Linked DNA regions of Homo sapiens: region 2 is linked to region 1. The links are contacts of gene promoters, found by promoter capture Hi-C in human tissues and cell types (Jung and others, 2019). All regions are on one chromosome and are shown on one strand. The core of a region is centred on a gene start or on the middle of the fragment in contact, and the rest is flanking DNA. Distances in the headings are between cores, read along the strand shown. Region 1 holds the start of DSG2 (desmoglein 2). Region 2 has its middle 75 kb from the start of DSC3.

Region 1 (6,709 bases), core at 1,922-4,421:
CTTAAAATGTAGTTTGATTTTAAAGCACAAGCTTCATTAGTCGAACCCAAAATTGAAGCAACCATCAGGAAATCTCTCACCCACGAGCCCTCCTTGGCAATCTGGCGAGGCCTATGAACCCCTTCTCAGATTAATGATTTCAAATGTATAAAATAAAATACAGGGGATTATCAATGAACCCAATTATATTGAAATAGTTATCAGCATTTTTAAAATACCAATTTGTGATGCAGCAGTATCATGTATTTTATTAACATATTAAGTAAAAGATCTAGTAGAAAGTCTATTAGTGATGTTCAGAATAAATGGTATTTTGAGATCACCATAAGATGTAAAGGTATTTATGAATTCTATTGTGATAGTCACAGCTACTGCTCACACTACTGTGCAGTGTCTTCCCCACACTCATAATTTAAAGAAATACTAAATTTCAGTCCGAAGTTAGTTAAAATATATATGTAATTAATTCCTTGCCATCTCTAGGAACTCTTTGAATTCTATCTGTGAACCATTTGGGAGTTGATGGATTGCAAAGAACCCTTGAAGAGGAAATATTCTCTGATTTTATTCAGAAAATTATTTCTTTTTCCCATTTTGATACAGCTGGCCTAAATGTTTGATAGCTATGTGGGTGACACAGCTACCTTCTGGTGTGTCTCCCTGCACTGCTGAGGAAAGCGAAAGACCATGTGTCACAGACTCCACTGCAGGCTTCGTTCTGAATGGGGTTTGGGTTCAATTAGTATTTACATGAGATTTGAAAGAAGGAAGTGAAACAGAGCTCTGTGCCTCCTGGCAAGCAGATATGGACGTATGGAGCTGGGTTCTTTGTAGTCATCTTATTATGGCTCTAGTGTCCAGCTACTAGATTTGTGAACACCAAGAGGCAAGGTACAAGCATCCATGTTGTTATGCATCCTAGCAGATGTGGCATGCATGGGTCTGCAGCTGGTAGCAAAAGTAGCACCCTGATCACAGCAGTTTTTCAGACTGTGGGAGTGGCAGTGCAGTTCCTGGTCACAGGAGAGGCAGCAGCTCCCTAAGCGGTGTGGCTCTGCTGTGTGGCTTTGAAGTCATTACTGACAGCTCAAATGGCAGTCTTCTCAATCCTTCCTACACTTAGGTAGTCAGTTTAGTGCCCCGAAATAAACCTATTCTTGCTTTAAATAGCTAGAGTAAATTCCGTTATTTGCAACTGAACTCTGATCTAACAGACTACAATTTATATTCCTTCCAATAAAGGACCTGTTTCCTTGGCAACTACTTCTGTCAGATGAGTTGCTTTCCATTTTTTTTTTTTTTTTTTTTTTTACCAAAAAACTGCAACTGCAAACACACTGGGGGTAAAATGCTGCATTGCCCACTACTCTCTGGACAAAAATAAACATATTCAAATTTATACTGCAGAAAGTTTTATAGAAAATACATAGAACAGTCCAAGAATTTTGCTCCTGTTCCATTGGCTATAGTCGCTTTCTAAAGGAGATGTTTATTACTGCCCAATAAGGTAAAAGTATCAAATTGCTAAAATGAAAGATATGCCTAATTTGCTTACCTGCTACTCTGTGAGTGTACAAATTGGCCTGATTGCTACATTATTTGAAGATTAAAGGTCATTTATTTTCATATATGGAAAGAATATGTAACTCTCAAAGTAAGCTAGGTGTTACATTAGCTTGGGATTCTCCTTAAACAAGGAAACATCAAGGTGACAGGATTAGTTGTTTTGCCAGCCCAGAGGCTAAAAACGACGTCCCAGATCACGTCTTAGAAAAGTTTTGTCAACAAAATGAATTTTCATTGAAAGTTACCTCAAGGACACGGGGAAAATGAAATGGATAAATAGAGCATGAAAATGAACTGTGTGCTAGGCCTGGACGCCCTAATTATCATGCTCTTCCACCTGAGAGTTCATGGAAATCTCTAGACTGGATTCAGTCACGCCTTTTTCCGTTTTGAGACACACACACACACACACACACACACACACGATTTTCTTCCACATCCCACCAAAACTCGAGGATAGAAGGGCTCATGTTTTGGAAGTTAGAACTTTGAATATAGTGAATGTATTTGCATTTTTAATTATTACGTAAGAAAACTGAGTATGATTTTGCATCTAATCTCTGTAAACACATATTTGTGAACTCTCTGGAAGGTGAACTCACACCTATATTTGCAGCATAACTGTCACTTTATTAAAACCCCTTTAGTAAACCCCTATAAGCGAGATACATACGTGCAACCCCTTAAACAAACAGAAAACCAACAGTTTAAAATCCAATTTGAGCAAAAGAACTCTAAATCCAGGGACTGAACGTCGTTTCCGGGAGTGAGGGGTGGGGCGTGGGGGAGGGGGCGCTACACTTCCATTTTCTGTAACCTTTTAAATGAATAAGGCTTCAAACTATTACATATGTTTATTATCTTTAATATTGGAAAACTTTTGAAACACCAACTTCATAAACTTTAAGTTAAAACTATATGTGGGTGATCCACTTAAAATTAAGCTTTGTAAATTACACCTTTTTAAAAAATTTTTAGCCAACTTTTTGCACTCTAAGAATACAAGTATGTTCCTGGTTTCCCCAGTTCACTGGCTTGTGTCGGCGGCTAGAGGAGCTGGGGAATCCTAGGGAAATTTAAGGAACGTGGAAGAAGCGCGAGGTTGTTCCCTATTGCCTCCACGTTTCTCGTCCCAGAGACTCTCAACAAAGCCTCCGACCCCCAGCAATGGTGTTCCCCGCCCCAGGGCTCACTACACCCACACACCACAGAAAAGGGCGCTGGGGCCTGGGTGACGCGGGAAGGAAAACACAACTTCGATAGGTCGCAACTTACTCTCCTGGCTCCAGCCAAGAGGATTTTCCGAAGCCCCAGGTCGGATCTCGCCGCAGCCTGCCCGGCCCTTTTCCCCCCTCGGGCAGCAGGAAGGAGCGCCGGGCAGGTAACGCGCACAAGGGCGGCGGGCAAGTCTGGTCGCGAGGTCTAGACCTCGCCTACCGACGCCCTCCCCGGCGGTGGCTCCCCTGTCCCGCTTGCGGCACTTACCAGGAGAAGCAGCAGGGCGTACGCGCGTCCCGGGCTCCGCGCCATCGCACCCTCGCCTCCGCCTCCCGCCGCCGCACCGCTCCGCGCCGCCGCCTGCCCCGAGCGCGCACTCGGCTCCTCCCTGGCCCCGGCCTCCCCCCGGCCCGGCCACCCTCTCCCTCCCCGCCCCGAGGGCTGTCTTCCCGTGGCGGTTGCGCGGCCCAGCCCAGCCCAACCCAAAGGCGCGGCTCCAGGTGTGGCCGCCGCGAGAAAATGGAGCCGGGGGCCGGCCCGGGCCGCTTTTACAGAGGTGGGGAGTTCAGCAGAGGAGGGAGGCGCGGGGTGGACTCCCGCCCGCTCGCACTCGCACCTGGGACCGTGACGTCCTTGGGTTGGGGACTGTGGGTGGCAGGCCCCGCCCCGCCGTTCTCTCCTTCCCGACCCCCTACTCTCTGGAGAATGGCGGGAGGAGGGAGCCTCCTGGCGGGGCTCGACCTGGGTAGCGCGGGTCGCAGGGCCCCGGCCCAAGGACAAAAGCTCCACGGAGCAGAGTCCTGCGGGACCAACCGGCCCAGTGGCTGCGGGGCCAGGCCGCCCAGCACCGCCCAAAGGTCCCGCACTTTGTGATTGTGCTTTGGGCCCGGAGCGCAGGTGTCGCTAGTGACATGGGGACCCGTGTCCTCAGGAAAGCTGCGACCGCGGTGCGTTCGGCCCGCTCTCCTGGAGCGGAGGTTGTGGAGCAGAATTTCAGGTGGCTGTCTCCCCAAAGGCTGCTCTTCCCTATGGCCCTTCACTGCTTCCAACAGGTTTGCAGCTTATCTGGCTCAAGGAGAAACAATCACCAGAGGTCAAAAAGGACAATTCTTGGGCTAGGAGAAAACTCTAGGGTGTTACGGGAAATATATATATTCTTTGAAATGATTTACAATTTCTATTACACCACTAGCTAGATCAGAGGCCCCGCTCCAAGAGTGACTAGCTGAGTGGCCTGGACTAGCCTCTCTGGGCCCCAGTTTCCAGATCTGTCAAATGGAGTTAATAGCGACCAACGCACGGGGAAGTTTTGAGAACGAAATTGGAAAATCTTAGGTAAAGCATTCTGCAGTGTCTAGAACTTAAGGGTTCAATAAATAATTGTTAAAATTAGAACAACGTGATTGCGAGGTGAGATGTTAAATTGACATCTTGAAAAGCAGAAACTTAGTATGGGCATCCAAACACTAGAATCAGCACCGGATTACGAAACTTCCAAGAAATGTAACGACTGAAAGTAATGGACGAGCCTATTGTTCTGTGCGAGAAAGGCGCAAGGGGAGAAGAAAAGACACACACACCATACTTTTAAGGGTAAACAACCTTTATCCCAATTAAATGGCAACGCGGATATAATAAGCAAATGATATAATAAGCAAATTGCAATGGGAAGGGGAGAAGGAAAAGATATATTTATAGGTACACTCACCAGACTGTGGAGGATTCACCACCACACCGGGAAGCAACAGCCTGGGCTCCAGAGTCGGACACTACACTCACCAGACTACAGAGGATTCTCATGAAGTTTCCTCATGGTCTGGGACCCTAGCTCTTATCGTAACAAGTTGTTTGGCATGAGACCCAGTCACAAGGGCCCTTCCCGACTGGACTCAAGGAACACAAAAAGGTCAACTTGTGTTTGCGATTGTCTGTTGTGTTTCAATAACTAACAAATAGGAATTTAAATAGAGATTTATTTGAAACAGCGCTCGATGAATTCCTCAAGGGGCTCACACCACCTGTTCTGGGACTTGGTGGCCATTGTTTGTGTCCATGTTCAATTGAGTTCAAATTTAATATTTAAGTTTTCCTCCACATTCGGCTTCAATCTGATACTCAATCGCAGGAAAATACCCCTACAGATACATGGGGAAGGCATAGTTGATAGAGATTACAGATACAGGGTAAGCACAGGAGAATTAAAAGCAAAATTAATAACACACCCATCATGGCTTTGCAAGGAGAGTAATATTGTGAGAATTGTCAGGGATATACACATAACATCCAGTGCAGTAAGGTGCAAACCCCTCCTTGGGCTGCAGTAAGCATATCTAATGCCTTTCCATTTGCAACACAACAGTACATAGCTGAGCAAATTCATCTGATAACAACATACATCCAGTGCTACTATCATTAAGAGCTTTTCTTAGAAGTGAGCTTAATGTTTTAATTTGTTGCTGAAGCAGGATTGTATCAGCTGCAGGGGAGAATGCTGTGATAGGATACCACCCCTACGGAGTCGGATGCATTCTAACCAGGGATGTTTGTAAGCATCTAGATTACTGGGGAGGGGAATATTATCCCGGATGGTGAATGGAATTAATGGCCACCCCCAAGTGCATATCCCCATCCAATATGGGGGCAGGTATCGCTACCCATAGGATCCGCATACCCAGAGGGCCCCGCAGGGGACAGCAATGGAGTTACTGTAATCATAGTGTACTAATGTGTTATAAAAGTAGGAAAGAGATTGTGTTTCATTGGGGGTAATGTTGTTGATTTGGAGCATGTGTTGACAATTGTCTGGCAGGAGAAACCCCAGAGTACCAAGGCTTGGTTTGGTCAAAGAAAGTCCAGGTTGGATTGCAAGTGTTGTTGTTGTGGTCCCATTGGTAGCGACATAGTCATTCAGAAATGTTAGCAGGGAGGATTCTCCAAGGTAGCTCATTCCCACATAGCCAACATTGACTGTGGTTGGCTTCCTCTGCAGCGGTGGCTACCCAGTTGATGAATTTAATCTTGGCGTCAGACACAAAGACACAGGTGCTGACCATTAGTAGATAGGTTATTCCATGTGATAACAAAAACAGAGGGGAACATGATATTGTTTTTCATCTTTAGGAAATTGTAGTGTGCTTCATTTTCTGCTCCTATAGCTACAAGGTCACCAGTCTTAAGGGTGGGACCTGATGGACGCTGTACCCATATTTTGGCTCCAGGATTTTGGCTCCAGGATCTGAATCCCCCAGTTCTGCATGTAGCCTCTGTTGGGGCAGATTTCCTCAGGGGTTAATTGCTGACAAGGTTCCACTAACAATTGAGCAACCTGCATCTGAGGTTTTATAGCAAAAGAATCTGGAGTGGTATTGTATAAAATGACCTTTAACTCTCCCCGGTAAGCACTATCAATTATACCACCATACATTATAAAGCCTCTCATTGCAAGTCTTGAACATGTTGTAATCCATTCATCCACATTCAAGTTTGCAGTTATGGTGGAAATTTTGGCCTGTTGATCTGCCTGCTGATGAAATAGTCTGTCAAGAGCAAACAGACGCATGAGCATCAACATGGAAAACAGTGATAATGGTAGTGTGTGCCAGGATTCAGATATCTTCCCAGTATTGTTTACCCCAAACCTCTTCATTCCCAATTAACCATTTGTTTTGTTGCCATTGGGGCATCCAGGTGGTAAGAACATTTGCTACTGACCAAGAGTTGGTATTCAAGTGGCAAATCCCTCTGGCCTCCTCCTGAATAGCTCAGAGGACCACTACTAGTTCAGCCAGCTGGCTGCTCCCACCCCTTCCTTCATCAGAAATGCTTATGCTTTTTAACAGGGTTATGAGCCATGGCCTTCTAGCATCGGGTCCCATCAATGTATTTGGTAGATCCATCAGTAAACCAAGCATGTTTCTGATCCTCT
Region 2 (6,709 bases), core at 2,467-4,966, 530 kb after region 1:
ACAAAGTAGATTGAAAGTTCAGTATTTGTGATGTCAACATGTCTGTTGTGAGATATTATGGATCCTGAAAAATAATAGTAACATTTTGGTTTATATCCTCTAAATTAGCATATATTAATAGCAGGGTTTAAAAGGCTGATACTAATGTCTATATCCCTTCTCTTCAAAAGGAAGAATGTGTAGAACGTCCCAAATGGAACTCTTTATAAAACATTTCCATACGGAACATTTTTTAGGTCAAGTACTGTTCTAAGTGAGGATTTTTAAGCATGACAGATAATAACATTTGAAGTATTTGTAGCCACATGAAGAAACAGGAAATACGCATAAAGTTAAAAAAGTATATGGAATATGGATATTTCAAATCCAAAGTAATTTTTGAGAAGATTGTAATTTTTAAACTTTGAAAAGTACCTAAAATTAATTGGATAGTTCATCCAGCTTTGAAATAAATTATATCCTGTTCTGCAGTGAATAATGGGGAAATAAAAAATCCTATATTAATGAGCCGAAATAACTTGATATAATCAGAATGGATTTTTGCACATTTTAATTTTATCATTATAAATGAAGGAAATGGGAGCAGAGACGAGAAACTGGGTATTCCTAAAAAAAGAAGCTGTAAGGCTGTCATGGATAGATCTTTTACATCTTCTCTAAAGCTATAATATTTCTCACTACAAATCGTGTTCAGATTGATAAAACTGTGAGGCTACAGGATACTACAGCATGAAAGACAGATTCTGTCATGCCCGTCTTACTGGATTAAAATTGAGAAATTTCTTGGTGAGGTGTCATTGCAACCACACACACGGGGAGAACTAAATATCACACACACTTTCCCCATGAATGAATTTGCCACCATTTCCATGTGTTAGGCAGGAAAGGATTGAAGTCTGATTAATAACCGCTGGTGGATGTTTTTGAATTAAGCAATCAATTTTGATTTATCGTCCTATGCTGCCATCCTGTGGTTACCTGAGAAATGAATAAAGTGGAGAAATCCAATGTTTAAAAAAATGGTTTGAGCCATCTGCTTCTGTGGCATAATAGAAAAAAGAGACTCAAGCAGATATGTGCCTTCTGTCTCTAGAAAGAATGACATTCACGGGCATTCTTTCATTTATTTTTCTCTATCTTCCACCCCTCAGAGATAGGCTGAGTTTGAAATAGTTGCTGCATAATGTATGAAGGAGAAAAATCCTGAGAGGACTTAACAGTTCTGAGAAATAATTGTCTCTTATTCTTACATATTTCCATGGCGGGAGGGAGGAAGGACATTTATTTTCACCTTAATTTTCATTTGATCAGGAGAACTCATTCCTTTCTGAACAGTTTGTCTAAACTAAGCTTTGAAAAATATCCATCATATCCACATAGTAATGAAAAAGCGAATGCTGATCAGCGCAGGGCTGGGCTGATTTATTTTGGAATGCCACTACTGCAGGGTTTATCTTTTTTTATCTTAATGAAACATGCTGCTATTATGCAAGTGTTCTTGCTATTACCTGCAGAATAATCTACCCTGTAATGGAATGAAAGTCTCTTTTAGGCAATGCAATGTAGAAATACTTTCACTTATTCACAGCAGATAATGAATTAGCTTCTAAAAGAAGGATAGCTTCTCATCACCTATTTATAATTTAAAACAAATGACTCGCTCTTTCACAGTTGCATTTAATGAAAAAGTAATTTTAAAACACTATGTTAACAATTAACTTAAATAATATTAATATTGGTCATTGTATTAATTGTGAAACCAATTAAAGTCATTAGTATATACCAGGAAGTTTTCTGTTGATAGTTCTATTTTACATAGCTATGATGAGGTTTAGCGTGTAGCTCAAACTCATAAAGGAAATAAGTTGAAAGAAAGGATTCTGAACTATTGATTCAGTTTTATGTTTAATTACTCATTCATACAGCCCTGGATATTACATTTCAGAAAACGTTAATTATTATAATTTTCATATGAAATACTTATTCCTGGCACTTTTATGTTAAAGTATTAACAAACCATGGCTTTGTCTGATTGAAAGGAAAGCTGAGATACAAACCCGCTAAAGTTTATTTTCCCTCATTTATAACTTCTAGTTACCTACTAAATGAGGACATTATTTGTTAAATACTACTGTGTTGAAAATCTAGCTGGGAAGAATATTGCCACTAAATAAGCCTTCTATCTTTGGAATACAGGTTGAATTTAGTAAACATCATATTAAAATGCAGTCATCTTATCAATTATAAGTACATAGTTACCATCATGACTTCAGGTTATATTTAATTTCCCTCTAGGAGGAAAAAGTTATATACATAACAGATGAAAAAGGTAAACAACCACTTACTAAGTAAATAACATAAAGCAATTCTCCATCAAAGCCTCAGTAATTACTTTGTGGAACAGGCTGCCCTTAATAAAATAATTAATTAATTTTTCCAAATGAATTATGCAAGCCAATATTTTTTCTTCATTAATGTTTTGTTGAAGTAATTAAGTTTTATTAATGAATAACAAAGAAGGAATTGGGTCTTTATTCTAACTGCTAGATATTAATGTGCTTAACTTGAACTAAATGTGTTTCCAGTATGTAATCAAATTTGAATCAATCAAGTCAATTTACCAGTCAAATGTCCTTTTGGAGCTCCAGCTGCTTCCTGTGAAGGCTCTTCACAGAGAACATGCAGAAAGTGACCCAGAAGACTCTGTGGTTCTGCCAAGTATCACATCAATTCTTAATTACAATCCGCTTGATTTTCTAAAGGACGCTACTGGTGCCTCACACAGAACTCTATTATCTGATTCTAATTATGATGAATTTGGATAAAAGCTTAAAATTCATCAGTGTAAAATAAATGACTATTAGCTGAGATGTCGGTTTCCTCTCCAAAGAAGTAAGAGGACAGAAAAAGTCATGCTGGTCTTAGCTCTACAAGAGTATGAATGCAGGCAGGTATTACCATTCAATTTCCATGAGATGTATGGCCTACAATTCTTAAAAGGGTATCTGAGGCCGGGTGCAGTGGCTGATGCTTGTAATTCCAGCATTTTGGGAGGCCAAGGCAGGCAGATCACCGATGTCAGGAGTTTGAGACTAGCCTGGCCAACATGGTGAAACCCCGTCTCTACCAAAAATAAAAAAAATAGCCAGGCATGGTGGTGCGCACTTGTAGTTCCAGCTACTCTGCTTGGGAGGCTGAGGCAGGAGAATTGCTTGAACCTGGGAGGCAGAGGTTGCAGTGAGCCGAGATCGTGCCACTGCACTCCAGCCTGGGCGACAGATTGAGACTCTGTATCAAAAAAAAAAAAAAAAAAAAAAAAAAGGGTATCTGAAAAAGAGTGACAAAACTCATTTTGTTTACATATCATTGCTGTCTACCTGGAAACAAAACGTATTGGTTACTGAATACTTTACACATGACATCATGATACAGTCTTACTCCTGAGACAAAGCCTGAGCTCACCCTTATATAATCTGTGGAGTATCTGAATAGGAACACATTCTCCAGATACCTGTATTTGTTAGTGGGTATGTGTTGCTTAAGTACCGGTATTTACTGATAACTGAAGTTGTTTTACTTGGTAGTTTTCAAAGCAAATCAATAGATTTAATGCAATTCCTATCCAAATTCCAGTTCTCACATATGCATGCATCTGTGTTTGTGTGTGTGTGTGTGTGTGTGTGTGTGTGTAGACATAGACAAACTTATATTAATACTAAGATTTTTACGGAAAGGCACAGGCACTAAAACAGCTAAAAATATCTTACAGCTTTTCTGTCTTGTGATTTACCTAGTGGACAGACTTCATTGCTACTACTCCTATGAAGGTTATGTTTTGCCATCACTGGGGTCTGGGTCTCTTTCCGTCTTACTCTCCTTAGAGCAGGCCAGCATTCTTTGAATCAACAGAAGCTCCACTCTACAGAGGTGACTGTAACACCAGTGATATTTCTCACTTGTCTCCATTTTTTAGAAAGAAACTTCCACATTTCTCATCAATACAGCTTTCTATTTTCCAGCTTGGTAGTCCTGAAATGAAGCATCAAAAGTTTTTAATTATGGGGCACCACACAAAAGATGATGATAGCATATCAAAATCAACATTTTACTTCTGAAAGAGCAATGAGTGCTTTGAGGTTCATTTAGGAAAGCTTGAGCAGTTCAAGTTTGGTTGTGTTTATATTATGACATTTATGATGACAAGCCATCTGGATGAAAAGTAGAAGTTCTGTGAATTAACCAGATGTGTCCAAATATCTGAATTTGCAGCATCAAAAGACTGACAGTTTTTATCTGAAGCTAATTAGCTCTTGCCTGACTGTCAGATTGGAGGATTATTACACCATCAATGGTGTGCATCTCTCAGGTGACATTTAGCTATCATCCCTTGATTGTAAAGAGTTGGTAGAGAGCCACTAAGAGTGGGGTCTTGGGAGTTAGACAACACCTGGCTTGAATCCTACTTCTCTCACCTGTTAGCTGGGCACCTTTGAGCGGACTATGAAACTTCACTCTTCAAATTATGAAAAATCTACAGTACAAAGATTTTAATCATGAATACCTTCTAGAGTGGATATGAGAGTTAATGCAATATAGGCATCATCTGGCATAAAGTATTAAATATGAGGTATAATTATTACATGCATTGGCTTTTTAAGTGTATAGATTTAGGGGTATGAGGGTAGCTGTGTTACATGGATATATTTCACAGTGGTGATATGGGGTTTTTAGTGTATCCATCACCCAAATAGTGTACATTGCACCCAAGAGTGAATGCATGCCTTTTTATCCACCTATATTAATGTTTTAACGGCAAGGACTAATTTAATATCTTCCGCAGTGCCTAATATGCAGAAAGTACTCAGTAAATATTTGTTATATTTGATAAATAAGTGTAACAAAATGCTATGTTACATCAGTTACTCCTTTCAGTATAGATTAGGTTTTTAAGTCCTCCAAGTTCCACCTCTGAGAGCTTCCATAAACTGATTAGTAGTGCCTTCTTTAGATAAGAAAGTCACAGCAGACACACCTCTTAGAAGAGTAGTTGAGAAAACTCAAAATTTTTTACTCTCAAAATTAAAAACGATGTCAAAATAGTTCATTTTACTTTCTATTACTGTGGATAAAAGTCTTTCCACTATCGATGAGAACAGTGGGGTTTAGAAATTTGCTGAAAGTTGCCCTGATGACAAATAGAAGTGGGATGTGAACTAGGTGTTGTCTAACTCCCGAAGGCTCCACTTTAACTCCTGGCCTCTATTAATACCTCACAATCAAGAAGTGATGGCTAAATGTCATCCGAGCGACACATGATTAATGGCATAATAATTCCTCAATCTTACAGTCAGGCAGGAAACTAATTATCTTAAGATAAAAATTTAGTCAGTCTTTTGATGAAAATTTGGATATTTATACATTATCACATTATATGGGAAAGGCACATCTTCAAATTATAGAACACGTCATTTTAATCAAGTTTAAGAGAAATATGTATGAATTTTACTTTATTCCTTCGTATATGCATTCCATATATACTTACGGTCTCTGAAGCTCTGGAGATGCAGAAGGGAATTACATGCTTCTTGCTTCCAATTTGTAGACTGATAGAGTTAGGAATAACAAAAAATAATTAGAATATAACTATAATGTGGTATTGTAGATATGCACTAAATGTAAAAGTGGCAAAGAGATGGAGTGATGAGGTCTACCACAGGGAGGTAAGGGTAAGGTCTGGATAGGCATAACAGAGAAGGTGATGCTTAAATTGAGTATGCAAAGAGTAGATCTTCAGCATCAGGACCAAGAAGGCCACTGCAGAGAAAGGGAGCATTAAAAGCAAAGACGATGGCACAAAACCCCATGGTCCATTTGATGAACTGCAAATAACTCAGTTGGTTGCGACACAGAAGAGTACAAGGGGAGCACAGGCTATGGCGAGAAAAGGCCTTGGATAAATAAGCAGGGGGCAGATGTTGAACTGTGCAGACTCAGTGCTGGAGCCAACAGTAGCCAGTGAAAGTTCTTACATACAGATTTTAAGAAAGATCACTCTATTGGAAATAAGGAGGGCTGGAAAGACCGAAGACAGAGGAACTAGTTTAAGGACTATTATAATCATGTAGTTAAAGGGCGATTTTGGCTTAGATAAATGGTTCTTCGTTCTGGCTACATAGTGAAACATCTTGGGGATCTTTTTAAACTTACAGATTCCTGGGCTCCACTCTGGATGAATTAAATCAGAATCTGGAGGTCTAGAACCTGGCATTGGTATTTACAAAAAAAAACCCCAAGGGATTGTACTATGCAGCAAGTTTTGAGAACCCACAGCTCAGCTTATGATAGTTACATCAGAGATAAAGAGTGGGAGTTGAATTTGAGGCATTTTTAAGGTGTGAATTTCAGAGCAGTGTATATACATTACTGTATGTAAGAATACCCAGAAGATCTTGAAAACTACAGATTCCGAGTCAATAGGTCTGAAGTGAGGCCTGAGATTCTGCATTTCTAACAAGCTCCCAGGTGATGTCAAAGCTTCTTGTCCTTAGACCATACCTTGTGGAGGAGGATTATGCATTTTGCATAGGGGAGAGAGGGAGAAAAAACATCAAGAATGATTTATTAATTCTGACATTGGTGACTAAGGGAATCTGATCATAAGAATTTAGAGAAAGATCATGAACTCAGTTTTGAACATATTGAGTGTAAA

Evidence for each region. The method cuts DNA at HindIII sites, captures the fragments that hold promoters and counts their contacts. A contact is called where the count stands out against the background at its distance.
Region 2: a contact is called between a fragment that was not itself captured here and the fragment with the promoter of DSG2 in region 1, in 1 of the 25 tissues and cell types used here (aorta).

Annotation. Positions count from the first base shown.
Region 1 is chr18:31,494,639-31,501,347 of GRCh38, reverse strand. DSG2 (desmoglein 2) reads right to left here and starts at 3,171. Exons shown (of 15, transcript NM_001943.5): 1 at 3,052-3,171. The coding sequence starts at 3,096. RefSeq lists enhancers at 817-926, 3,642-3,781 and a silencer at 2,972-3,441. The HindIII fragment of the contact is 8,335 bases long and covers 1,272-6,709 here.
Region 2 is chr18:30,964,641-30,971,349 of GRCh38, reverse strand. No RefSeq gene overlaps it. Among named protein-coding and RNA genes, the nearest start is that of DSC3, 75 kb to the left of the region's middle. The HindIII fragment of the contact is 3,254 bases long and covers 2,090-5,343 here.